7 separate regions of the Homo sapiens genome follow, and regions 2, 3, 4, 5, 6 and 7 are each linked to region 1. The links are contacts of gene promoters, found by promoter capture Hi-C in blood cells and fetal thymus (Javierre and others, 2016). All regions are on one chromosome and are shown on one strand. Each heading gives the region's core, a stretch centred on a gene start or on the middle of the fragment in contact. The rest is flanking DNA. Distances are from core to core; before and after follow the strand shown. Region 1 holds the start of MR1 (major histocompatibility complex, class I-related). Region 2 holds the start of RNASEL (ribonuclease L). Region 3 has its middle 4.3 kb from the start of GLUL. Region 4 holds the start of TOR1AIP2 (torsin 1A interacting protein 2). Region 5 has its middle 89 kb from the start of ZNF648. Region 6 holds the start of CEP350 (centrosomal protein 350). Region 7 has its middle 26 kb from the start of ZNF648.

Evidence for each region. Contacts are between HindIII fragments. The CHiCAGO score rates a contact against its expected background, and 5 or more counts as called.
Region 2: the fragment with the promoter of RNASEL here is called in contact with the fragment with the promoter of MR1 in region 1 in 2 of 17 cell types (total CD8 T cells and total CD4 T cells); the score reaches 6.2 in total CD8 T cells.
Region 3: a fragment that was not itself captured here is called in contact with the fragment with the promoter of MR1 in region 1 in 2 of 17 cell types (fetal thymus and M0 macrophages); the score reaches 5.4 in fetal thymus.
Region 4: the fragment with the promoter of TOR1AIP2 here is called in contact with the fragment with the promoter of MR1 in region 1 in 6 of 17 cell types (fetal thymus, total CD8 T cells, naive B cells and 3 more); the score reaches 8.4 in fetal thymus.
Region 5: a contact is called between a fragment that was not itself captured here and the fragment with the promoter of MR1 in region 1, in 1 of 17 cell types (M1 macrophages). The highest score is 6.8, in M1 macrophages.
Region 6: the fragment with the promoter of CEP350 here is called in contact with the fragment with the promoter of MR1 in region 1 in 13 of 17 cell types (naive CD8 T cells, activated CD4 T cells, total CD4 T cells and 10 more); the score reaches 14.4 in naive CD8 T cells.
Region 7: a fragment that was not itself captured here is called in contact with the fragment with the promoter of MR1 in region 1 in 1 of 17 cell types (naive B cells); the score reaches 5.3 in naive B cells.

What each region holds. Positions count from the first base shown.
Region 1 is chr1:181,032,348-181,035,583 of GRCh38, forward strand. It overlaps MR1 (major histocompatibility complex, class I-related), which reads left to right and starts at 1,636. Exons shown (of 6, transcript NM_001385161.1): 1 at 1,636-1,727. The coding sequence starts at 1,661. RefSeq lists enhancers at 816-1,005, 1,206-1,305, 1,436-1,545. The HindIII fragment of the contact is 2,248 bases long and covers 974-3,221 here.
Region 2 is chr1:182,587,552-182,590,787 of GRCh38, forward strand. It overlaps RNASEL (ribonuclease L), which reads right to left and starts at 1,705. Exons shown (of 7, transcript NM_021133.4): 1 at 1,616-1,705. RefSeq lists an enhancer at 1,421-1,580. The HindIII fragment of the contact is 1,344 bases long and covers 447-1,790 here.
Region 3 is chr1:182,394,453-182,397,688 of GRCh38, forward strand. No RefSeq gene overlaps it. Among named protein-coding and RNA genes, the nearest start is that of GLUL, 4.3 kb to the left of the region's middle. The HindIII fragment of the contact is 1,254 bases long and covers 1,170-2,423 here.
Region 4 is chr1:179,876,361-179,879,596 of GRCh38, forward strand. It overlaps TOR1AIP2 (torsin 1A interacting protein 2), which reads right to left and starts at 1,443. Exons shown (of 7, transcript NM_001199260.2): 1 at 1,333-1,443; 2 at 879-1,013. RefSeq lists an enhancer at 1,418-1,777. The HindIII fragment of the contact is 9,006 bases long and covers 1-3,236 here.
Region 5 is chr1:182,148,712-182,151,947 of GRCh38, forward strand. No RefSeq gene overlaps it. Among named protein-coding and RNA genes, the nearest start is that of ZNF648, 89 kb to the left of the region's middle. The HindIII fragment of the contact is 2,255 bases long and covers 628-2,882 here.
Region 6 is chr1:179,953,307-179,956,542 of GRCh38, forward strand. CEP350 (centrosomal protein 350) reads left to right here and starts at 1,504. Exons shown (of 38, transcript NM_014810.5): 1 at 1,504-1,836. RefSeq lists an enhancer at 1,200-1,701 and a silencer at 1,489-1,938. The HindIII fragment of the contact is 10,111 bases long and covers 1-3,236 here.
Region 7 is chr1:182,033,877-182,037,112 of GRCh38, forward strand. No RefSeq gene overlaps it. Among named protein-coding and RNA genes, the nearest start is that of ZNF648, 26 kb to the right of the region's middle. The HindIII fragment of the contact is 1,880 bases long and covers 652-2,531 here.

The DNA of each region.
Region 1 (3,236 bases), core at 386-2,885:
AGTTTTCCAAAAGAGAAATCCAGGTGACTGTATTTGTTAAATGAGTAACAAAAGGAAAAACAATGTAAAGAAACAGAAAGGAAAGGAAGAGAGAAATACAAAGATCTGAGAAGAGAAGGTGCCAGGGGCCGCTGAGAGATTGCCAAATGTTAATTTCATTATTTGGCTTCTTATTTTATTCTGGGTAAAGGTAGACCTATTAGTTTCCTGTTGCTGCTATAACAAATTACCACCAACTTAGTGGCCTCGAACAATGCAAATTTATTCTTTCAAAGTTCTGGAGGACAGAAGTCCAAAAATGTGTCCTATCAGCTGAAATCAAAGTGTTGTGTTCCTTCTGGAGGCTCTAAGGAGAATCTGTTCCTTCTCTTTTCTAGTTCTAGAGGCCATCTGCGTTCCTTGGCTCATGTCCTTCTTTCAGCAATGGCATCATCACTCTGACCTTTGCTTCCATTGTCACATCTCCTTGACTCTGACCCTTTTGCCTCCCTCTAATAAGGCCCCTCTGATTACACTGGGTCCACCAGATAATCCAGGATAGCTCTCTGTCTCAAGATCCTTAATTTAATCATATCTGCCAAGGGTTTTGTTTTGTTTTATTTTGTTTTTGCCATTTAAGGTAATATATCCACAGGTTCTGGCAATTAGGTTGTGGACATCTTTGGGGCGACAATTCTCAACCTACCATACAACCGGTACATAAGGTTCTACTACCTACTAAATGCATCATAAACAGAACTTCTGATCCTTCAACAACTCTGTGAAATATATGACAGGATTTGCTTTTAAAGTTGAAGAAATCAGGCCTTGGTGCAATTTGGGATTCTGCCCATGGTCAAATAGTGGGGAGGCAAACCCAGGTCCCTGAACCCAGCTCAAGCCTGCCTGCCTCATGGCCATGCCTCCATTCACCTCTCCCCTTCATGTCTACTTCCTCTTTCCTGTCTGGGCCTGTTCCCTAGCTCCCTGGACAAGCTTAAGCTGCTGTTTTCCAGCTTGTCATGTGCTCCTTATGACAGTGTAGCCACAGCTTGATCTTGGGGATTGCTGATTGAGCAAGCTGAGTGGCTGCCCCTCAGAATCTTCTGTAGGCCTTTCTCTTGCCTTCTTTTATTCAGTAAGTGTTTTGAGCTTATTGTGCTGGGTGCTAGAGTAGCAGGGAGGACAGACCTAAGTTGAAGATTACGGGACAATCTAAGTGACACCTGCTATCTCAGACAGAGACTTCAGCATCATAGGGAGCCAGAGCAGGGAGTTCCAAGCCGTGGGAACTGTGACTCTTTCTTACTGACCCTTAAGCAAAATTCTAAGCTCCAGGGAAGCAGAGGCAGCAGCTTGAGCTCCCTGATTGACCAGATATGATTAATCTTTGTTTCTCTGTGCTTTGAACATGACTATGCTCCATAAATATTTAAAAATTGGGAATAGGGTGAAGATAGATACACCAAAAGGAGCAAGCAGTGTCTGAAACCAGCAAAGACTTAAAAGTTACCGAAGAAGGTGTTCATGCTTTCATTTTATCTTTTTTTTTTAACCTAGCAACTGATGACACTGCATATCTTCCCCTGTTCTTATTGGGAGAAGGCCTTGTGTGTCACCAAGAGGTTCTCAGAAGGGACCTGTCAGTTTTTGGTTAAAAGAACCCGGAAAGAGAAGGACTATGGGGGAACTGATGGCGTTCCTGTTACCTCTCATCATTGTGTTAATGGTGAAGCACAGCGATTCCCGTGAGTATCCCACGTCCTCTTCTCTCCTAACTCCAAAGTCGAGGCAGCCTAGAAGGCACAGCTTTTCTTCCTAAAACTTGTGGTGAAAAATATAGAAGCCAGGGGCAGAAACGTGTATGTATTACACTCAGACTCCAGGAGCAATGGATTGCCTGAACAGTTTCCCAGTTCATATTTGTAGGATTTTGATGTCACCACCTTCTGAGGGAGGGGGAGCCGTTCTAGAAAGACTCTGGAACTTCCTCACTTTCCCTCTGAGCATGGCCTCCTTTCTTTTCTGCTCATATTTTTTCTTTTACTTTTGTTTCTCCTCTTTTCTAACTTCCAGAGTCTCATGAGGATGTAGTCAGAGTTTCAGGGGCATTAACAGTGGAGTAGATCCATTGTTCAGGTTTATTTATGTTTTTCCTCAACACAAGCCCTACCTGTAATAAAAGATCCAAGAAAGATAAAACCATGGCTCTGGGTTTGTTTACTGACTGTGAGAAGTATTAATCAAGTAGAAGGGAGAGTTTTTCATTATTCGGGGAGCTCAAGTCACTGGGGAAGCAAATGCCTTCTGTTGCCTCAAATAGGGGAAAGGGCCCATGGGCTAGAACCACCAGGCTTCTCTGCCCTAATCACTTGCTCCCTGGGCTGAGGACTGGTACTGGTGGGCAGTGTCCAGAACTTAGACTTGGCCACCACCATAGGTGTGACTGATGAACATGAGAGGAAGGAGTTCTTTCAAATCACCCATGCACATAGAGAGTGGAATGACTGACCATGGAGATTTGGAAGGGCGAGGGGGGTGGATGATTAGAAATTACTTAATGGGTACAATGTGTGTTACTTGGGTGATGGATACCTTAAAGCCCCAACTTGACCACTACACAATCTATGCTATAACAAAATTGCATGTGTACATCATAAATTTATACAAATAAAAAAATTTTAAATCATATGGCTGGGAGTGGTGGCTCACACCTGTAATCCTAGCACGTTGAGAGGCCGAGGCAGACGGATCGCTTGAGGTCAGGAGTTTGAAACCAGCTTGGCCATCATAGTGAAACCCCATCTCACTAAAAATACAAAAAATTAGCTCGGCACACCCATCTCTACTAAAAATACAAAAAATTAGCTGTGCACAGTGCGCACCTGTGATCCCAGCTACTCGGGAGACTGAGGCAGGAGAATCACTTGAACCCAGGAGGCGGAGGTTGCAGTGAGCCGAGATCATGCCACTGCACTCTAGCCTGGGTGACAGAGTGAGACTCCATCTCAAAAAAAAAAAATCCATATATTAATTGTTCAAATATTGATTGATGGCCTACTATGTGCCAGGCACTTTGGGGGATATGGCAGCGAACAAGACAAACATAGTCTCTGCTTCCATGAAAATTTAATCCAGAAAGTGTCATCATTTATGGGAAAGATTGGGGGTGAGGGTAAGAGGCAGAAGATGAAAGAGGAAAGGAGGAGAGAGGCAAAGGGTGATATTTTTGGAAATAATAAAGCTTATATATTACC
Region 2 (3,236 bases), core at 455-2,954, 1.6 Mb after region 1:
CCTATATTAACAAATTGCTTTCAATGTCATATAAATATATTCTTACCAGAGATAGGTGGCTTCCAAAAAAAAAAAAAAAAGACCATGAAAATATGCACATCAATTATTTATCAATAAAAAAAGAAGAACCCTCATTCAATAAGAAAAATATATTTCTTGGCTTTTTTTCCCTTTGCATTTCTTATGTCACCAGGAAGGTTGATCACTGTGTTTGCTGACTCTGTGCATGTCCTCTTTGTACAACCCTGTGCCCCTATTTAAAGTACAGACAATATCTGACTTATGTTTTTTGACTTTGATTTATGATTTTTTGACTTTGCAGTGGTGGAAAAGCAATAAACATTCAGTAGAAACCACACTTCAAGTACACATACAACCATTCTGTTTTTTATTTCAGCATAGCATTCGATAAATACATGAGACATTTAACACTTTATTATAAAATAAGCTTTGAGCTAGATGATTTTGCCCAACTGTAGCCTAATGTAAGTGTTCTGAGCACATTTAAGGTAAGCTAGGATAAGCTATGACGTTCAGTAGATTAGGTGTATTAAATGTGCTTTTGACCTACAATATTTTCAATTTAGGATGGGTTTATCTGTATGTAACCCCATCATAAGTCAAGGAGTATCTGCAGTAGTGAAAAGAGCTTGTACTCTGACCTTAGGGAGATCTAAGTTTGAGCTTGTGGCTGTGTAATTTTTTACTATTACTTCCTGTAACCTTGGATTGTTGAATCTCAATTTTCTATTTCCTGAAATGGAGACAAAAATAAATACAGTCATGTGTGTAAAGTACATTAAAGTATGGAGTGTTGCAAATATTAGCCACTCAATGAATGTTAGAGCTAATTATATCCCGTTATGAAAAAATAAATTGCTTAGTGAATTCTATTCTCCCTACACATGTGCATATAGCTACTACACGAATAGGCAACTGGCAGCTATCAATTTCGTCCAACTGTCAATCAGATCTGAGAATTACAGATCCAGTTCAATCATCAGACAGCCCGAAACTGTTACCTGAATATTTAAATAACTGCATCTGCTATAGAATTCACGAAGCAACCCTTTTTCAGCAATCTCACCACTCTGACAGTTTCAAAGCCTCAGAGGTTAATTGATTAGCCTCTTAGAAGTTTAATTAATTGTGCAACACATACACGATCACCAGGCAATGAAATCTTTGAACCAAAGTGTTTGTGTAGACCGTCCCCATTACAATCAGATGTGAGGTGGGCTGGTATAAACAAAGGAGCCGGGAAGGAGAGGAAATATCAAGGAAGCCCTGAGTGACGCATCAGAGTAGAGAAGAGACGAGCCTGCGGAAGTACTCCAACAGACAATCCTGCTTTCAATTTCACTTTCTCTGTGCGACCTGAGTAAGTCGCAAAGAGATGCCTGAGAAACTGAGGACATGGATAAATGACGTGTGGACTCTGACAGAACTCTGGAAGGGCACTGGAGGAAGATCCTTCCGGGCAGCCAAGGGCTGGGAGCTCCCCTCCCACTTCCCAAGTCCTCCAGCCCCTGGCCTCTCCAGTCTCCAAAGCCCAAGAATTCTTCAGGATCGACTTATCGAGGTTTTCTAGCTTTCCTCCTTCTGCCTGCCTTACCTGCTCAACTCAGACGTCTCAATTATTCCTTTGGCAGCCGCAAAGCCTGGAAGACTGCTTGCAGCCCGAGCAGTTTCCTCCTGCTGCGTCACTGAGTCAGCAGGGCGGAGCCAAGAAAGGAGTGAGGAGTGTGGGAGGGAAAGCAGCCACAGGCTCACTCTGGCACCAGGAGCAAAGCTTCTACTTGCACACCTTCTGGAGGAAAGCAATAGCCACTTTCTGTCTGCTGATGAGGAATGTGATGCCCGGGGTCATGTCACTCACCTCTCAGTCTTGCAGCCTTTCAGGTGGCAGCAGCCAACTGCATCCATCACTCTTGCATCCTTTCTTTGTCATTGCAAATTCTGGTCTTCTTGGAAGAAAGGAATGGAAAGTAAACACATATTGAGCACCTATTGTGTTCCAGACACAATGCTTTACATGCAGCATGGTCCCAGTTAACCCCTGACAATCTTGTTGATTATGAAACGCAGGCTCATAGAAGCTAAGTAAGCCCAAAGCCCAAGCCCTGTCACCTTTCTCAGCTCACTCAACTCACAGCTCTGAGGCAGTGCGGCCTTCTCAGAAGGGTACCGGACTGGCAGTCTGGAGACCTGATCCTACAGCCAGCTCTGTGGCTGCTTAGCTGAGTGACCTCAGGCATGTGATTTAACCATGTAGGGCCTCAGTTCTCTCCTATAACTTGGTTTTGAAGGTTCCTTTCTGCTCTACAAGTTCTGTTCTTGACTATCTTCCTAGCAATGAGCTGTGTACTGTGTACTTAGTGCTGTAGTGGAAAGTATTTCCATCCCCAAAGAATACCCAGTCTTGCTGGGGAGACAAAGCCCTGGGACTTGTGAACAACAAGTAGTGCATGGTCACTTGACGACCACCTGTGTCACACCATCCAGACCCGGGGCCTCTACCACCCCTTATACACCAGGGATTCCCAGGCCTCGCTCTCTAACCCCAGCCTCTCTGCTGAGCTTTAGACCTACAAATCTTGAATATGTGTCAAATGGAAATACTCATCTTTTCCTAAATCTGCCCCTCCTCCCACTTATTCCATCTCCACAGATGGCACCATCACCCGGAGGCCACCCCTCATCCTCATCCCAACACCAAGTCTCTTGCTTTCATCTACAAAGGGATGACCATTCGAGTCCTTGTCATCATTTATAGCAAGAAATTGATGACTTGCTTCCTAGCCCTTCATCCATTGTTCCACCCTGCATCATTGACCCACCATCATTTTCAGGACAAAGTTCAAAAATCCTTAACCCATTATTCATTTAATTAATACTTGTTGGACAGGCGTGGTGGCTCACACCTGTAATCCCAGCACTTTGGGAGGCCAAGGCAGGCAGATCACCTGAGTTCAGGAGTTCAAGACCAGCCTGGCCAACATGGTGAAACCGCGTCTCTACTAAAAATACAAAAAGTAGCCAGGTGTGGTGTTGTGCACCTGTAATCCCAGCTACTCGGGAGGCTGAGGCAGGAGAATTGCTCGAACCCGGGAGGTGGAGGTTGAAGTGAGCCAACATAGTACCACTACACTCCAGCCTGGATGACAGAGCAAGACTCCGTCTCAAAAAAAAAAAAAAAACTTATTGAGCACTGACTATGTTACCAGTGACTATTC
Region 3 (3,236 bases), core at 547-3,046, 1.4 Mb after region 1:
TCTTCTCCTTCCCCTTCTTCCCTAAATTGCCACCCGCCCCCATTCTTCACCCCCACCATAAAAAGAGCATTAGAATGCTTGAACCCATGAACTTTTCTGTTTCTTGGTACACACCATATCAGTGCTGACAAGGGGTTCCATTGCATGTGCTTTGAAGTCATATTTTTCTCTCTTAGAGTAGAATTGCCATGTCCAAGGGGTGGGTGGAGTGGGAGAGCAATTACAGGGAAAGATTTTGTTCCAAATCTGCAGAAATAGCCTGAGATTAAAAGTATTTCTTCAATGTTGTTCTGCTGCCTGAAATAAAAGCTTTGTATTAGGATTTTGCTCTACTCCCAAATCTTATCTCTATTAGGAAACAACTTTTCTCTTTTTTTTTTTTTTTTTTTTTTTTTTTTTTGAGACGGAGTCTTACTCTGTTGCTCAGGCTGGATGCAGTGGCGCAATCTCGGCTCACTGCAACCTCCACTCACTGTAACCTCTGCCTCCCGGGTTCAAGCAATTCTCCTGCCTCAGCCTCCCAAGGAGCTGGGATTACAGGCGTGTGCCACCACACCCAGCTAATTTTTTGGTATTTTTAGTAGAGACGAGGTTTCACCATATTGGCCAGACTTGTCTTGAACTCCTGACCTTGTGATCCGCCTGCCTCGGCCTCCCAAAGTGCTGCGATTACAGGCGTGAGCCACTGTGCCCGGCCCTTTCTCTGTCTTTTAAAGGATCCATTCTCACTCTGCAAGTATGAAGTCCTTTACCTGGGGATCTGGAGTGCCTTCCCAGGGCCTGTGTGGTTGCCTTATACACATTAGACACAAAATTTAGGGTAGGGCTCACATTGACCAAACCTTTTCTGTTTAGGAAATGGAGTTTTCCCTGTGTATGAATGATTTCAATAGGCATTCAGTGAGACCTTTAAATCATGTTAAAGAGATACAATTGAGACTCAGGGTTGGGGAACACCCTGGAAACCCAACCCAGAATTGTAAAATATTCTTTTAAAAATTATTATTATGTAATAAACCAACATCAGTTCTTTCCAAAAGAATGGACCATAGTAGAATCTTAAACCAAATCAAAATAATAATAATAAAAATGAAGAAGAAAAGAAATAGCTCTGGAAGTTGATAGCATTATTCTTAAACCATAATTTAGGGAAAAGCTGTAGTTGGCCAAGCTTTCAAATTTCACTTTATACAATTAGAGAAGGAAAGACTACATTTACATTATACTTCAGTTCAATAACTAGCACTAAGAATGGAGGAATTGTTCTTTACAGTTTTTGATTGTTTGATATTCTTCAGTTCAAGACAGGAAATTGGAAATTCACGTCTCAGCCATATCTGTAGCCTGATTTGAGTTTTGTAGGATGCGTGCTGAAATCAGTCAAATACAAGGAACACTTCATTTCCCCAACTGCGTGTTATGATGGAAGGTTTGGGTCTGTTTGAGCTCTACCCTGAATCATGTCTCTAGCAGGAAACTACGTGGAAAGTTGGGAAGAATCAAGTTCATCTTAGTTAACAACCTGGGGAAAATGTCCTATTGAGAAAATTAAAGCCATACAATTCTAGAATTAGATCTTCACATCATTCTATCTTAAAGATGAGGAACTGAGGCTTAGATAACTCATAGTAACTTGATGAAGTCATGTTTGGTTAGTATTTTAGAGCTTAATGAGCTTTCAAGGTGCTGTTCTTTTTCTGTTCCCTTTCCTTTAGTCGCTTTGGTCTGTGGGTGATCTGTTCCGGGGCCACCATCTCTAAAATACTGAAATTCCTACAGTCCTCACTGAGGGAGGTGCAGAGGACAGGGAGCAACCATTTACCTCTCAATCCTGGGTATGCTTACCCAGTGACTTCTGTATAGCAGACACTCAATATATATTTTCTTTGTGAATAACTAGATTAGCAGAAAAAAACAACACCATAGGAAAGATTCTCTTTGAAGGACTCTTTGGAGATCATTTTTCACATCTGATAATCTGCCTCCAGTTTCATTGTTTTGTGAATCGGGTTTTTTTAGATACATTTTGTCCTTTATTCTCAATTTACACTGTACAGATCGTTGTTCTGTAGATTGATTGGAACATTATTGAAGCTAATTAAAAAATTTAGAGAATTTAGCATTCTGATCAAAAAATTATTTAGATCAGAGTATGTGCTTTAGTTGGTACCATTCCCAAAGAAATCCTCAATGGGATCCACAGCCCTTCCTCCCTCCCCTCCCACCTCATTAGTTAATTTGGATCCCTGTTTATTTCACATTGACTCGCCAAATTTTAACAGGAAACAAACAGCCCTAGGGTATGTTTTCTGGATGCTTGGGCAATTCTTAGTCTGCTTCTGGATTTTTCCTGTCCGTTCTCCTCTTCCACTTCTTTTAAACCCGTTCTCCGGAGACTTGTTTACTGGGGTTGGAGAATCAGAAGCTTGGCCGGGGTGGTGTGAACCTAGTGCCCTCTTGTGGAATTTTGTGAGAATGACAAACTCCCCCAAAGCTTGAGTGCTTTGAGTTTTTTCTTGAGTAGCCTTTAGTGGGAGGACCTTTCTGTTACATCTTAAATCTAGTAAGTTAATAACATGCAGGCTTATTGCCTACACTGAATATTTGAAAGCTATTATGTTGGGGGGTATCACTTGATTACCAGAGGCTTATTGTTATAGAATTAAGCCTCATTACAGGAAACAGGCAGCTAAGTGTTTGTGCTTTTTCATCACCTCCCATTAATGTGTAAGAGAGGTAAAGAGAAAAGGAAGGCTCCCAAAGAAAAGTAATTGAAAAAAGGCTAGGAACCAAGAGTAAAGGGGAAATGGCAAACTTTAGAAGCCTTGGTCAAAAACAAGTCTTATCCCCAGCTCTTGCTTTGGATCTGAGCCCAGAAATGTAAGACCCAGCCAGAAGTTGAGAGTCTGCCAGATTCTCACCCCCCGGGGGAGATGGGGGTCAGGGTAGGGGACAGAAAGTGTTGCATAAACCCACTCCTAAGGGAGGTCTAGGGTGTTTACACTGTGCTGTTTGCTTTACCTGGGCTTTCTGGCTTGTTTTCTTTTCTTTCTTTCTTTCTTTCTTTCTTTCTTTCTTTCTTTCTTTCTTTCTTTCTTTCTTTCCTTCCTTCTTTTCTTTTTTCTTTTTTTTTTAAGACATAGTCTCACTCTGTCACCCAGGCTAGGGTGCAGTAGTGCAATCTCAGCTCACTGCAACCTCCGCCTCCCAGGTTCAAGTGATTCTCCTGCCTTAGC
Region 4 (3,236 bases), core at 193-2,692, 1.2 Mb before region 1:
TACCTCTACATTAGGAAAGAAACTAGATAAAATAGTTCTTAAATGAGTCACGCAAGGTTGCGTAACAAACCAGCAGAAAAACAGGTAATCAAGTTGTGGACTGCACGTTCAGCATAATAAACATTACTGAAGACAGGCACTCAGTTTTCATAACAAATGTTAGTTTTTCAAACTATTCTAATCCACACAAAGTCTTCCAAAAACATCTGTAGTTACTCTACCATGAAGTTCCTTTTTTTATTAAATGTTTCCACTGGCCTTTTATATCCTCATCTTGTGCTCAAAAAAAAAAGCTCAAAAAACATGGATAACTGCCACAGCTTAAAACAAAGAAAGGATCTCTCATACAGATCCAAAATAAAATGTGTTAAAACCTAAAGACAGGTAAAACAAAGCCAGTATGTTTAATCTATGTAACTCATTTCTGGATCTGTGTAACAGTATAAAGTCTGATAATTAAGCATTACTCATAAAGTAGAGAGTACTATGAAATTTGTTAAAAGAAGGAAAAGGCACAAACTTTTTCATCAGGTATTAAATACAATTGGGAGAATGGTACATATATAATATGTAAGCAAAATGGTAGGAGGTCTTACTAAAACTTCAACTTTGCCCTTTTTAGCACCAATTTTTTTTTTTTTTAAGTATTATCTTTTCAGGATTAAGATTATGAATGTCGAGAACCTAGGCATGTTGGGAATGGAGTAATCGCCGCCTACACTAGTAGGCAAATTTCCCACTCACATTTCGAACCCTAAAATAATTCGGCTTCTCACCTTAAAGTCTAAACCCAAAAATTTACTCACATCTTAACCCATTTAATATTTATAAGATTCAGTTTCTTTTTATCCCAAAACAAAAATATACCCCCAACCTACCTCGTTTACTGTTTGAGTGAGGCCAGGCGTGGTGGCTCACGCCTGTAATCCCAGCACTTTGGGAGGCTGAGGTGGGAGAATCGCTTGAAGCCAGGAGTTCGAGACCAACCTGGGCAATACAGTGAGACCCTGTCGCTATAAAAATAAAAAATAAAGTAATTAGTAGGGCATGGTGGTGCGGGCCTGTAGTTCCAGCTACTTGGGAGGCTGAGGCGGGAGGATCCCTTGAGCCCAGAAGTATGAGGCTGTGGTGAGCTATGATCACGCCACTGTACTCTAGCCTCGGTGACAGGGCAAGTACCTGTCTCAAAAACAATAAAAATAAAAATACCATTTGTGCGGTACGAAGGTGGGGGTGGGGAGGGACCGTTTCTGAAAGTCCTTTTCAAAAATTCAAGATATCAGTTTCAATACTAAAACATGGAAAAGCTGCATAGTCATTTTGTTTACTTACAAATTCTGGCGAAGTTTTAAATCGTAAAACTGTTAGTATCAGGAGAGCCCTTCGAGTATTCTCTCCGCTCCACACCGCTCGGCTGCACCCAGCGGCCGCCGCGGCCCGAATGTCGTCCAGGGTCCCCGCCCATATGACAAACACTTTCCGCCGGAAGGCGCCCGTGGAATCCTGGGACTAGTAGTCTCCGTGCCCTGCCTTCTGCCTTCTCCATCCTTCACCCTCTACTGCCAGGTCGTCTGACCCAGCGACAGGCGCGGTAAATGCGCGACCAAACCGCAGAGGTCCCATGCAATCTCATGCTGACAGGATTACAGGCATCTCTGTAAGACGTCGACCACCCTGACCTGAAATTCATAGACTGAAGAAACTCATAGGACCAACACAGTGAGCAGCAGTACCAAATGATAATGGCAAGCACCATGTCCTGGAACACACCCTCTGTGCCATTAAGAGGAGCATGTAATCCAATGAGTTGCCTAATCTAAACCTCAGTTTGCTCGTGTGTCAAATGGGGACAACGTTACTTACCTCATAAGTTTGTTATTAGTAGATTAGATGACGTATGCAGCATTTCTGTTAAATGACAGTAGTGACAAAAAATAGCTGTTTTGATCTACTAATTTTATAAATGTGAAAATTAAGAGATGGCGAGCAATTTACCCAAGAACATACAATTTGTTGGGGGAAAAATGAAGTAAGTCTAAAATTCCTGTTCTTGACCTACAGCAATTCAGGACAAATCTAACCAAATTTCAAGAAGAAATCTATTCATGTAAAACTCCCTTCCCCTTTCCTCTTTTTTTTCCCATAACAGTCCTGACCAACACACTATTTTACTTATTTTGATTTTTGCCCGACTCCTCCCATAGAATATAATCTCCAAGAAGGCAGGAAACATTTTTTGTCTTTTAGTCTATTTTGTTCACTGCTGTATCCCCAGCACAGAGAACAGGGACTGCCTACTACACAGTAGCTCAAGTATTTATTGAATTAATAATTCCTCATTTAATGTGATTTTTGGTGCCTTCACTTCTCAATCACCCTCTCTTGGCAGAAGTGACAGGATTTGGTAACACTCTTGGATGGTGTTTAATAATTAACTGCAAGTCCTAATTCAACAAAAAGAATACTATATTCCATTCACTTTATTGTGTTTAATTAATTTCAGTATAACATTTCCAGGAATTTTCATTTGTATTGTCATTAAAATATTTTTCTATCATTTGTAAGACTGGGGAATAAATGGAGCCAGCTACTATGTCTTTAATTAACTTCCTCCTGTTTAATATTTTAATCATCTTTTCCTTATTAAAATTGTTTGCCTACTTCATTTGTACTACTAAGTCACAACGGATAGATTTATCTCTTTAAATAAATGAACTTCTGCTTACCCTAAAGCAAAAAGTTCCTGTACAAAAAATTTATTGTTCTAAAATGTTTCATTTAAAATAATTATTTTGGCCAGGCGTGGTGGCTCACACCTGTAATCCCAGCACTTTGGAAGGCCAAGGCGGATGGATCACCTGAGGTCAGGAGTTCAAGACCAGCCTTGCCAACATGGCAAAATCCATGTCTACTAAAAATACAAAAATTAGCTGGGCATGGTGGCAGGCACCTGTAATCCCAGCTACTCGGGAGGCTGAGGCAGGAGGATCACTTGAACCTGGAGTTGGGGGAGGCTGCAGTAAGCCGAGATTGCACCACTGCACTCCAGCCTAGGCGAAAGAGCGAGACTCCGTCTCTAAATAAATAAATTAATTAAAAATGAAATAAAATAACTGATTTAGGAACCCAGTCTCAAGAGCACAGGATTTCCAGACCTAGCCCTAATAGTTAAGTGTGTGAATTAATGCCATTTAATCTGAATTGTAATTTTTCGTGTTTCTGTCGTTCCCAATAAA
Region 5 (3,236 bases), core at 505-3,004, 1.1 Mb after region 1:
ACTAGATGCTCAAGGAGTATCAGTTACTGAATGTCTGGTGCAAAGGAGCTGGGAAAAAATCTAAAGGAGAAGGGATGAGTTTGGGTTTTATTTTTAGTGCCAATGTTCAAAAATATTTTTTAAAAATGTTCTACCAAACCCAAAATATTTCATTGAACACCTGGGACATCTCAGCTCTGGGAAGATCTTCCTATTACATCTCACTGCCTCCCTATTCCTGCTTCACTCTGGAAGTCCTCAGGTTATTAGGGAAAGCTCTAAAGGTGGAGGGCTGCTGGCAGGGAGATAAACATGCAGGGACAAGAGGCAGGAGTGGACGAAAACTAAGAGATACAGCAAAGATGTACGAGAGTAAGAAAACACTTGCATTCCTTCCCACGCACAGCCAGGTTGCTAGGAAGGACCTAAGACCTATGTCAGCCCTTGCCACCCTTACCAGGCAGTGACCTTGGAGAGGGACTTCAGAGACCAGAGCTTTCATACTAAAGGAAGATTGGAGGTTGTGATTATTGTTCACTATCCGAGGTCCAACTTTGTTCTGATTCAGTCTCATTTCTTTCACATCTTGACTGTTACTGAGTACTGGGGTTTCTTTTCAAAATAACAGAGATATGTGAACTCAGGAGAAGCTTCAGGAAGAAGCCTTTGAGGGGAACCTGGGGTTAGGTTTTAGAGGAAGACAGAAGAAGAGGAGGAGCTGTCTTTGATAGGAGCATCTGACGACAGAAGATCTCTGTGGAGGTGCTTCTGAAAGACTGGTAACAGAGGGCTCCATGAGAAAGCTCGTCAAGGGAAGGGGGAAGTGGTTCCGAGAAATGAGCTCAGAAGAGCTCTGACTTCACGTTGCCATGGTGGCAACATCCTTGCTCCATTACAACATACATCACCTAACACATGACAAAAGCAGTCTGCAAAGGGGAAGGGACGGCTGAATCAAGCCCTGCTGAGTCACTGTAGTTAACTTCCCACTCTCTGTCCACTGCATTTCTTTAGAGCTTCTTGAGACTGGCCCTCACGGCCCAGCTTTGGGTAAATTATTGGCTCAAGAATTCAGCTTTGAATTCAATCTTCCCAGATAGGATCCTCATGGCCTCTAGTTTGGCCATTCAGTCTTTCCAGGTAGGTTCCTCATGGCCTCTCTCTTACTAGGCCATTACTCTCCTTGTTTGCCTTGACTCCTGAAAGCTGTGTGTTTTGGTATTTTTCCCCTACAAGCAATTTTAACTTTCTTTTTTTGCATAGACCAGCCATGGCTCCCTGTGATTTCAATCCCAGCTCAATATCACATTCCCTCAGACCATGTTGTTTTAGCCTGGCCCTGACATTCTTACAGCTAATTTATTCATTTCTTGCCCTGAAAAACCTCTAAGTCTTAGCCCAGCCCTGGGAACAAGACAGGATTAGTCTTGTGTGGATTTTTGAACTTGACAGTTGAAGACTTTAGATACCTAAAATCAAACTCACTTGTGACCCAGGCCACTCAATGCTACAAGTACACAGAGGGACAGTCCTTGGGTATGTTGCTATGTGACATACAACATGCATGCTCATTAGGATCCCTCATGAAGGCAGGCACTGACATACTTACTCCTTTGAAACCCTAAATTTAGACCAAAGGAAATGTCACCTCAAATTGGGCCCATGGTCCATCCAAATCAGGCAATAACAACAGCCAACATCTGCTACATGGTGCTGACATTCTGCTAACCACTTCTCAAGCATTTGCTTCCTTACTATGGTTGTTCTCAAAACAATCCTGAGGGGTGGATATCATCATCAACAGTTTACAAACAAGTAGGGAACTTAGATAAAGCACGGATCACCCTTGGACAAGTTTGAACTGCATGGGTTAACTTACAGGTGAATTTTTTTCAACAAATATATTGGAATATTGTTTGGAGATTTGTGAAAATTTGAAAAAAACTCACAGACCAACGGTGTAGCCTAAAAATATCAAAAAATTAAGAAAAGGTTATGTCACAAATACATAAAGAATAAAAAGATGTTAGTCTATTTTATCATTTACTACCATAAAATATACAAATCTGTAAAAATAAGTTAAAATTTATCAAAATTTACACACACACTTACAGACCAGTGCCATTTGCAGTCAAGAGAAATCCAAACAAACATAAAGATGTAGTATTAAGTTGTCACTGCATAAAGTTAACCGTTTGGAGTCACCCCCTGCTGCTATTGCAGTGAGCTCCAATATCATGAGTATCCACTTAAAACACTGTGTGATGCTGATCATCTAGAGTGAGCAGTTTGTCTCTCCAGTAAATTGGTTCTCACTTATTTTTCATCATGTTTAGTGCATTCCTATAAACTTTGAGTAACACTGTGGGACTTATATGAGGTGCCACTAATAATGTTGGAAGTGCTCCCAAAAAATAGAGAAAAGTCATGACATTCCTAGAAGAAGTTGAATTGCTTGATATGTACCATAGACTGAGGTCTGCAGCTGTGGCATCTGCCATTTCAGATGGAGGACTCATCTTAGAAACAGACAACATAAACTTACAGTAACAATACCTACAGTACTGTACTATAAATGTATTTTCTCCTCATGAGTTTCTTAATAATATTTTCTTTTCTCTAGCTTACTTTATTGTAATAAGACAGTATAGTACATATAGCATACAAAATACATGTTAATCATCTGTTTCTGGTTATAGGTAAGGTTTCCAAGCAATGGTAGATATCAGTAGTTAAGTTTTTGGCCACTCAAAAGTTATACACGGATGAATTTTCAATTGCACTGGGTGTCAGTGCTCCTAATCCCTGCATTAGTCAAGGCTCACCTATAATTGCTCAATGTCACCTATCTTGCATGCTATAGAACAGGACTTGGACCCAGATCTGTCTGAATCCCAAACCCAAGCTTTGAATCAATTAAACTCTTGGACTGCCAGGCACGGTGGCTTACGCCTGTAATCCCAGCACTTTGGGAGGCCGAGGTGGGAGGATCACAAGGTCAGCAGTTCAAGACAAGCCTGGCCAACATAGTGAAACCCCGTCTTTACTAAAATTACAAAAATTAGCCCAGTGTGGTGGCAGGTGCCTGTAATTCCAGCTATTTGGGAGGCTGAGGCAGAAGAATCGCTTGAACCCAGGAGGCGGAGATTGCAGTGAGCCGAGACCACACCATTGCACTCCAGCCTGGGTGACAGAGCAAGACTCCGTCTAAAAAAAAAAAAAAAAAAAAAAAAAGCTCTTGGACTAAGGCATTTTTT
Region 6 (3,236 bases), core at 254-2,753, 1.1 Mb before region 1:
TCTGTTGCCCAGGCTGGAGTGCAGTGGTGCGATCCCGGCTCACTGCAACCTCCGCCTCGCAGGTTCAAGCGATACTCCTGCCTCCGCCTCCCGAGTAGCTGGGATTACAGGCACCCGCCACCACGCCCGGCTAATTTTTGTATTTTTAGTAGAGACGGGGTTTCACCATCTTGGCCAGGCTGGTCTTGTACTCCTGACCTCGTGATCCACCCGCCTCGGCCCCGCAAAGTGCTGAGATTACAGGCGTGAGCCACTGTGACCGGCCAGTACGTGTTTCTTCGTTTTAAAAAAGTGAGTATATTTAATAAGGTGGTTGTTTACATTCAGTAAAATAGCGCATGAAAAGCATCTAACACAGGGCTTTAAACAGCAAGACTGGGCAAAACCTAAATAACATTTTCCTTATGTTGTCTTTTTTGCTACCACTTGCACCATACGATTACCCACATTTCCTGTCCCCTCCAGTGCAGCTTCCTGGAGACACTTCACACGTATGCAGGACTTCTGTACATCCTACTCAGGCACAGCTGTAGGCCCTACAAAGAGGGACCATTTACTGCCTCCTGCTGTCATTGATATTCGACAAACATTTATTGAGCACCTACAATGTCCTAGTTACTGTGCTAGGCCATTTTGGGGTATAGAGAGATAAAACAGATCTTAAAGTCTTCACGACACTTAAAGATGAGAAACAGTCTCTGGGTAAATAACTATCGGAGTTCAGAAGGTGGACAGAAGTGGTGGGCGGCGAGTCTGTGTGCAGTGAGCACCTAGCGGAAGATGGCATTATTTGCAGAAGAGAGGTCCTTTAAGCCAAGTCTTGATAGATGATTTCACCACGCGGAGATTGGGAAACGAGGACAAAGATATGAGAAGATATGTTGGCCACAGAGAGCCTCTCAAAGCACTGTTAAAGCAAAGCCAATACTTAATGGGAGGAAACTCCGTTTTACTTGCGTGGAGTCTTAAGTCATTAGATGCATGCTAAACAGAACTGTAACCCTCGCGAATAAAACGGCCACAGTGACAGCAGTGGGTAACGGCAGAGCTGCAACTACTCTGACAGGGGTGACGACTTATTTGGACGACAGTTGGTGAAACATTGTAAACTCTCAGAAGCTGCCGTTTCCAGACTTTGAGTTCATTCTTGTCGAATCCCCAGCTTGTTTTCTCAGCCCGGGGTGAAATGCGCAGCCAAAAGGCCCAATGAGCGTCAAAGCGAAAGGGCAGGGGTGGTCTCTTCTGCGGATATACCTTGGCTCCTCCCAAGTCCTACGAGTTTAAACTTCGACGCACCAAACATGGCTTCTTCGCGGTTCTGCTCCTTGTTTTATTTCGCTCCCACCTTTCGGCCACACTCAACATGGCCCTAACCGAAGGTTGGCATGCCTGTGGCACTGTCTCGGGACAGTTCTCGCGAGGTTTGCCTGGGCCCGACTGCTCCCGCCCTGCCTCGCGCCGCCGCCACAGCCGCTGCCGCTGGCGCCGCTCCTCCTCCGTGTCAGTTGTTGGGCTGTAATGGCGACTGGGCCGCCCCTGACGAAGTGACTCCCGGGCCGGGGAGCGGGGCCAGACCTGCGCCAGAGAGAACTGCAGGGAGCCGCAGCTCGGGGGGTGGCTTGCCCTGAGGGAGGGGAGGCAGCCTTTCCGCCTTGTCTTCCTTCCCAGCGGACCGGCGGATCCCCGGAGCCGGTGCGAGGAGGGCACCCGGTGCGTCCCCGGAGCGGGGAGGCCAGGCCGGGCAGCCCTGGGGCCGGTCGGGGCGGCGTCACTGCACCCTCCGCCAGGCTCCGCGGGATGCACCGTGGTAGCCGAGGGCGGAGGCGACACTCTCAGGTGAGCTCCTGTAGGACCTGGCTGGGACCGCGGAGTCTCGCTCAGCCTCAACTGTCTCTGTCCGCGGTCCCGGGTCCCCGGTGGCGGCAAGAGAGGCGGGGCCGGGCGCGGAGAGTCTTGGCCCTGCTTGGCGTCCCCCTCGGGGAACCTCCCTGGGTTCTGAGGCTTTTCGGGGACCTAGGTTTCGGGTCCCACCAGTGCCTGCTGAAGACGGAATTTCCTTCCTTACGTGCCAGTGTCCTCCCGCCTCCTCCACCCCTCCTCTAGCCTGCAGAGGTAAGATACCTCTAGCCTTTGCTGCCCGGAGAAGTGTCCCTTCTTCATCTGGCGATCAGGCGTATTTGGGGAGATTCCGGGGACTGGCTCCAGTGGCAGGGATGATCAGTTTCTGTTCCTTTTCAGTGGGGATCACATTCTCAAGTATAGGGAAAACTTTGATCTACTCTAGTCTAGCGGCTGCTGAAGGTAGTTTATTCACAGATAATTTGGGGAAAGATTTAAAAGGCTTTATGTTTTGGAAGTTGTCAGTATTTTCCTCTGCCTTTTAAATGCAGCTCAACATGCTAAGTAATATTTAGCTAATGTCACAAGATATGAATTGGAATTTGCCTGGATTTTAAATATTCAGATAGAAAGTTGCACATAGGCATAGATTTTAATGTTTTAATGCAGTAGCAAATCCTTCATATGGGAAAAAACAGGTTGTCAGAAATAGTGATCAATATCCATGTACTCCACCTGATTGTTTTGTTTTGATGGTGATCCTTGTTTTGAATTTGGGGAAGTCGTTATTGTTGCCATGTTAACGATACCTCCTGCCCTGTATTTGAAGAGTTTTAAAAGAAAGACTATCTTTGGCAGAGCTAGTAACAATCTGAAAAGTTCTGTAGAAACAATGATAAAATACTAAAAGTTGCCCTCCATTCTGAAAATTTCTTCGTTTAATATATTGTTTTTAAACAAGGAAATGCACTGCTAATGACATGGAATTGTGACTTTGAGGGATTGTTAGACCCATGCTGGAAGTTGCTTCAAAGCCATGGGCGTATAATAATTAGTTTCGGTGTGCTAAATTGACAAATTTTATTTAATGTAATGAAATAAATCTGAATCATTTGAACTGTCAGTGCATTAAATTTAAGATACTGTAATCTGAAAATAAACTTCAAGCTAGAATACATTGTATATGTGGATAAATACATGTGTATCTCTGTATCTCTTCATCCTCAGTAGCAAAATTTTGTGTATGTAGAGATGGCAAGTTGTATATGTAAAAAATTTCATACGTATGTGAACATATTTCTTTGATTTTCTGAGATAAATTGGTGTGTGTGTCATGTAAGAGCGTTAATACTTAAACAGCCAACCTTCTGTGGGGCAATCAATTTATGAATTATAAA
Region 7 (3,236 bases), core at 342-2,841, 1.0 Mb after region 1:
GTCCACCCTAAAATGCATATGTTGAAATCCTAATCCCGGTGGGATAATATTTGAAGGTGGGGCCTGTGGGAGGTGATCAGGTCATAAGGGTGGAGCCTCATGATTGAAATTAGTGCCTTTTATAAGAAGAGGTCCAAGAACTGCTAGCTCTCCTTCTGCCGTGTCATGATCCAATTAGAAGTCAGCAGCAGTCTGCAACCTGGAAGAGGACCTTCACCAGACCCTGACTCTGCTGGTGCCCTGATCTTAGACTTCCAAGCCTTCAGAATTGTGAGAAATAAATTTCTGTTGTTTATAAGCCATCCAGTTTATGGTACTTTGTTGGAACAGCCAAATGAATAAGACAATTTATATGAATAGACTTATGGTTCTGTGACTTGGTTTTTTCACTCAACATTTTCTAAACCTGTACTTACAGCTTCGCTTCATTCATCTTAACTGCTATTTAACATCCCATTATATTAATAAAACACAATTGATTTATGTATTCTTTTACTGATGAATATTTAAAATGTTTCCAAAGTTTTGCCATTACAAATTATGCTGCAATTAATATTCTTACATATATTTATAATCTCCTCATGTATACTTAAATTTCTTAAGGGGGAGTGGTCTCCTGCTATGCTGATTGTGTTGCCTCATCAATAAAAAAGCTTAACTGCTTATCCTCAATATGTCTCTATTTATAAATTATATAAATGTCCTATTGTATTAACATGTAATACCCATTATCAAATGTAAATTTTTTCTTAAAAGATAAGTACAAAATTCTACTATTTTCTTCCCATATCCCATTTGAATTGCTAAGGTATAAGGTATAGATATATTGATGATTACTGATACTACTATCATATCATCATCATCATACTGTATTAATAGTATTATATCAATGTAATATTAAACATCATTATATTACTCTCCAAGAACTGTACCAATAATTTGCATTCCTTTTATCAGAGTATGAAAATTTCCATTTCTCCACATCCTTACCAACACTTGATGTAAATATGTACTTTTAACATTTTATTTTGAAAAAATTTCAAACTAGCAGAAAAGTTGTTAGAATAATACAATGACATCCTGTATAACCTCCACCTAGATTCACCAATTAATAACAGTTTGCTGCAGTTGCCTTTTTTTCTCTTTGTCTATCTCCCTCTTTTCTTTCCTCCCTTCCCTCTGTTGTAGAAAAAGCTAGGCTCCTGTCACACAACCAGGAAAATTTAGGCATGCAGACACATTGTAGGGTGAATAGGGCTGTGTTTATTGGGTGAAAAGGAAAAAAGGCAAGAGGAACTCTCAGTAAAGTGAGAGAGAGTCCTGCTAGCAGGCCCCCCACCTTACAGATTGAATCCCAGGCCACCACACAGGAAATGAAGAGGCCAGGCTCCTCCCCATGCAGGGATTTCCTCTGGCTCCACTCCCTTCCCCCAGAGCACAGGTGGCCATTATTCAGAGAGAATCAGTCAGGAAAGGGTGTGCTTTTTCCGGGACTAGCAGTCCAGTTCTTCAGCCTTCAGGCTGTTGTAGGCTTGAAGGTGGGCTTTCACCAGGGACCCTTGGCTGTCTCCTGTCTCTATCATTCCCCCTTCTAAAGAAGTACATCTAACTGCTGTTAGGATAAGGATAAGGATAAGGATAAGGGTTAAAGATAAGGATAAGGACAGTAAGACAATCTTAACTGCCTCCTGCTGACAGGGGGCGCTGTTTTGGGACTACGGCAGTCAGATCTCCCTCAAAGGCCTATATAACGGTTTCTGGCAAAAGGGGCCATCATCCGAGGCTCTGGATGCATGACCTTTTAGAGTTTGATGGCCTGAGGCGAGAAGAAACAAATCAGGTTGTTAGAAAATATGTATTAAAACGAAACAAGGTGAGTAAGGACAGCTCAAAAATCCTAAGGCCTTTTACCAGTTTGCACTGGGAGAAGGAGGCCAAAAGCCCAACTGGAAAAAAAAACTTTTACCCTTGTGCCAGCATCTCAGGCTTCTGGGTTCCCTTTCCCCAAGCCCAATCCTATGCCAATGAGTTTAAGGTTTGGGAAATTAACTTTTTCCAGTTTGGAGGATGCATCCAAGGGGAGTTTCCTGTAGTATGAAGACACAATTACTTTTCAATGAAGAGAGGACAGAGGAAGAAAAAGGAAAAAAGAAGGCATTTTTTTCAGAGGACTCTCAGGGGTTCAGGATGCATTTGAAAGGGATACAGACTGAAGATAAATGGCTACTCATCTAGAAAGAGAGAAGCAGGTGTCCCTGCTTCCTTTCTTTCCCTGGAAAATACTCAGGGTACATGAGGGAGAGAAAGTGGGGCATTGCTCTTTGTATCCCCAAGTCCCAGTAACCATGACAGGGTGCCACCCATGGGTGTCAAAGCGGCTTTCACCCATTTTATCAGGGGGACCAGGATGGTGTGGGAGTATCTGCTCTTACCTACATATGCCCTATCTACCCTGCTGTCAGTAGCCTTTGAATTCCTTAGACCTCACTTATGCCATGGATACTAGCATGACTTTTATCCATGAAACCGGAAGCTTGGTTTAATCGGCAGGAATTAGTCATGTTCACCTGTGCTGTGCCTTTTAATTTCTGCTATTGTCTGCCTCTGGATCCCTCAGATCCAGTTTTCTTTCCTAGGGCTTTTACCCGAGCCTGGAATTGAGTGTGTCTCTGGGGCATTGCATGGATTCCTTATCATAAGCCGAATGCTACAATGAAGCTGTGGGATTGAGTCCTCCTCCAACAAGGGAGAGAAAAGGACATCCAGATAATTGGTGACTATAGATATGCTTGCTAAGGTTTGGAATGCATGGGGCTTGGCTTTGGTTAGCTCTCTTGGTCTTACTTTCCCAAAAAGGAAACCTCCGGGTTATGGGCACCCTATTTATTCCCATCACCTGGCAGGAATTGCAGGATAATTGCTCAGAACTAGAATATCGATCCAGATTTTTATATCACCTATCCCTCTTGTTCCCTCTGAGCTGCAGCTGGAGATCACTGGTCGGTTTATAGGAATAAACAGAGTTAGTTTAAAATGTAGGCAAAAATTTAAAAACAACTAATGAGTCTAGAATTTAATGATAAATGTGTAAGTTTTAAAATATAATTTCTCTTTCTTTAGTCCTCATTTATGTTAAAAACAAATCAGGATAGGACTGCATTATTTACGAAATAGATGTTAGTCTTATACTTGGCCTGATTATTTGCATAAAGTGCAACAAGAATAATTATTTCTAC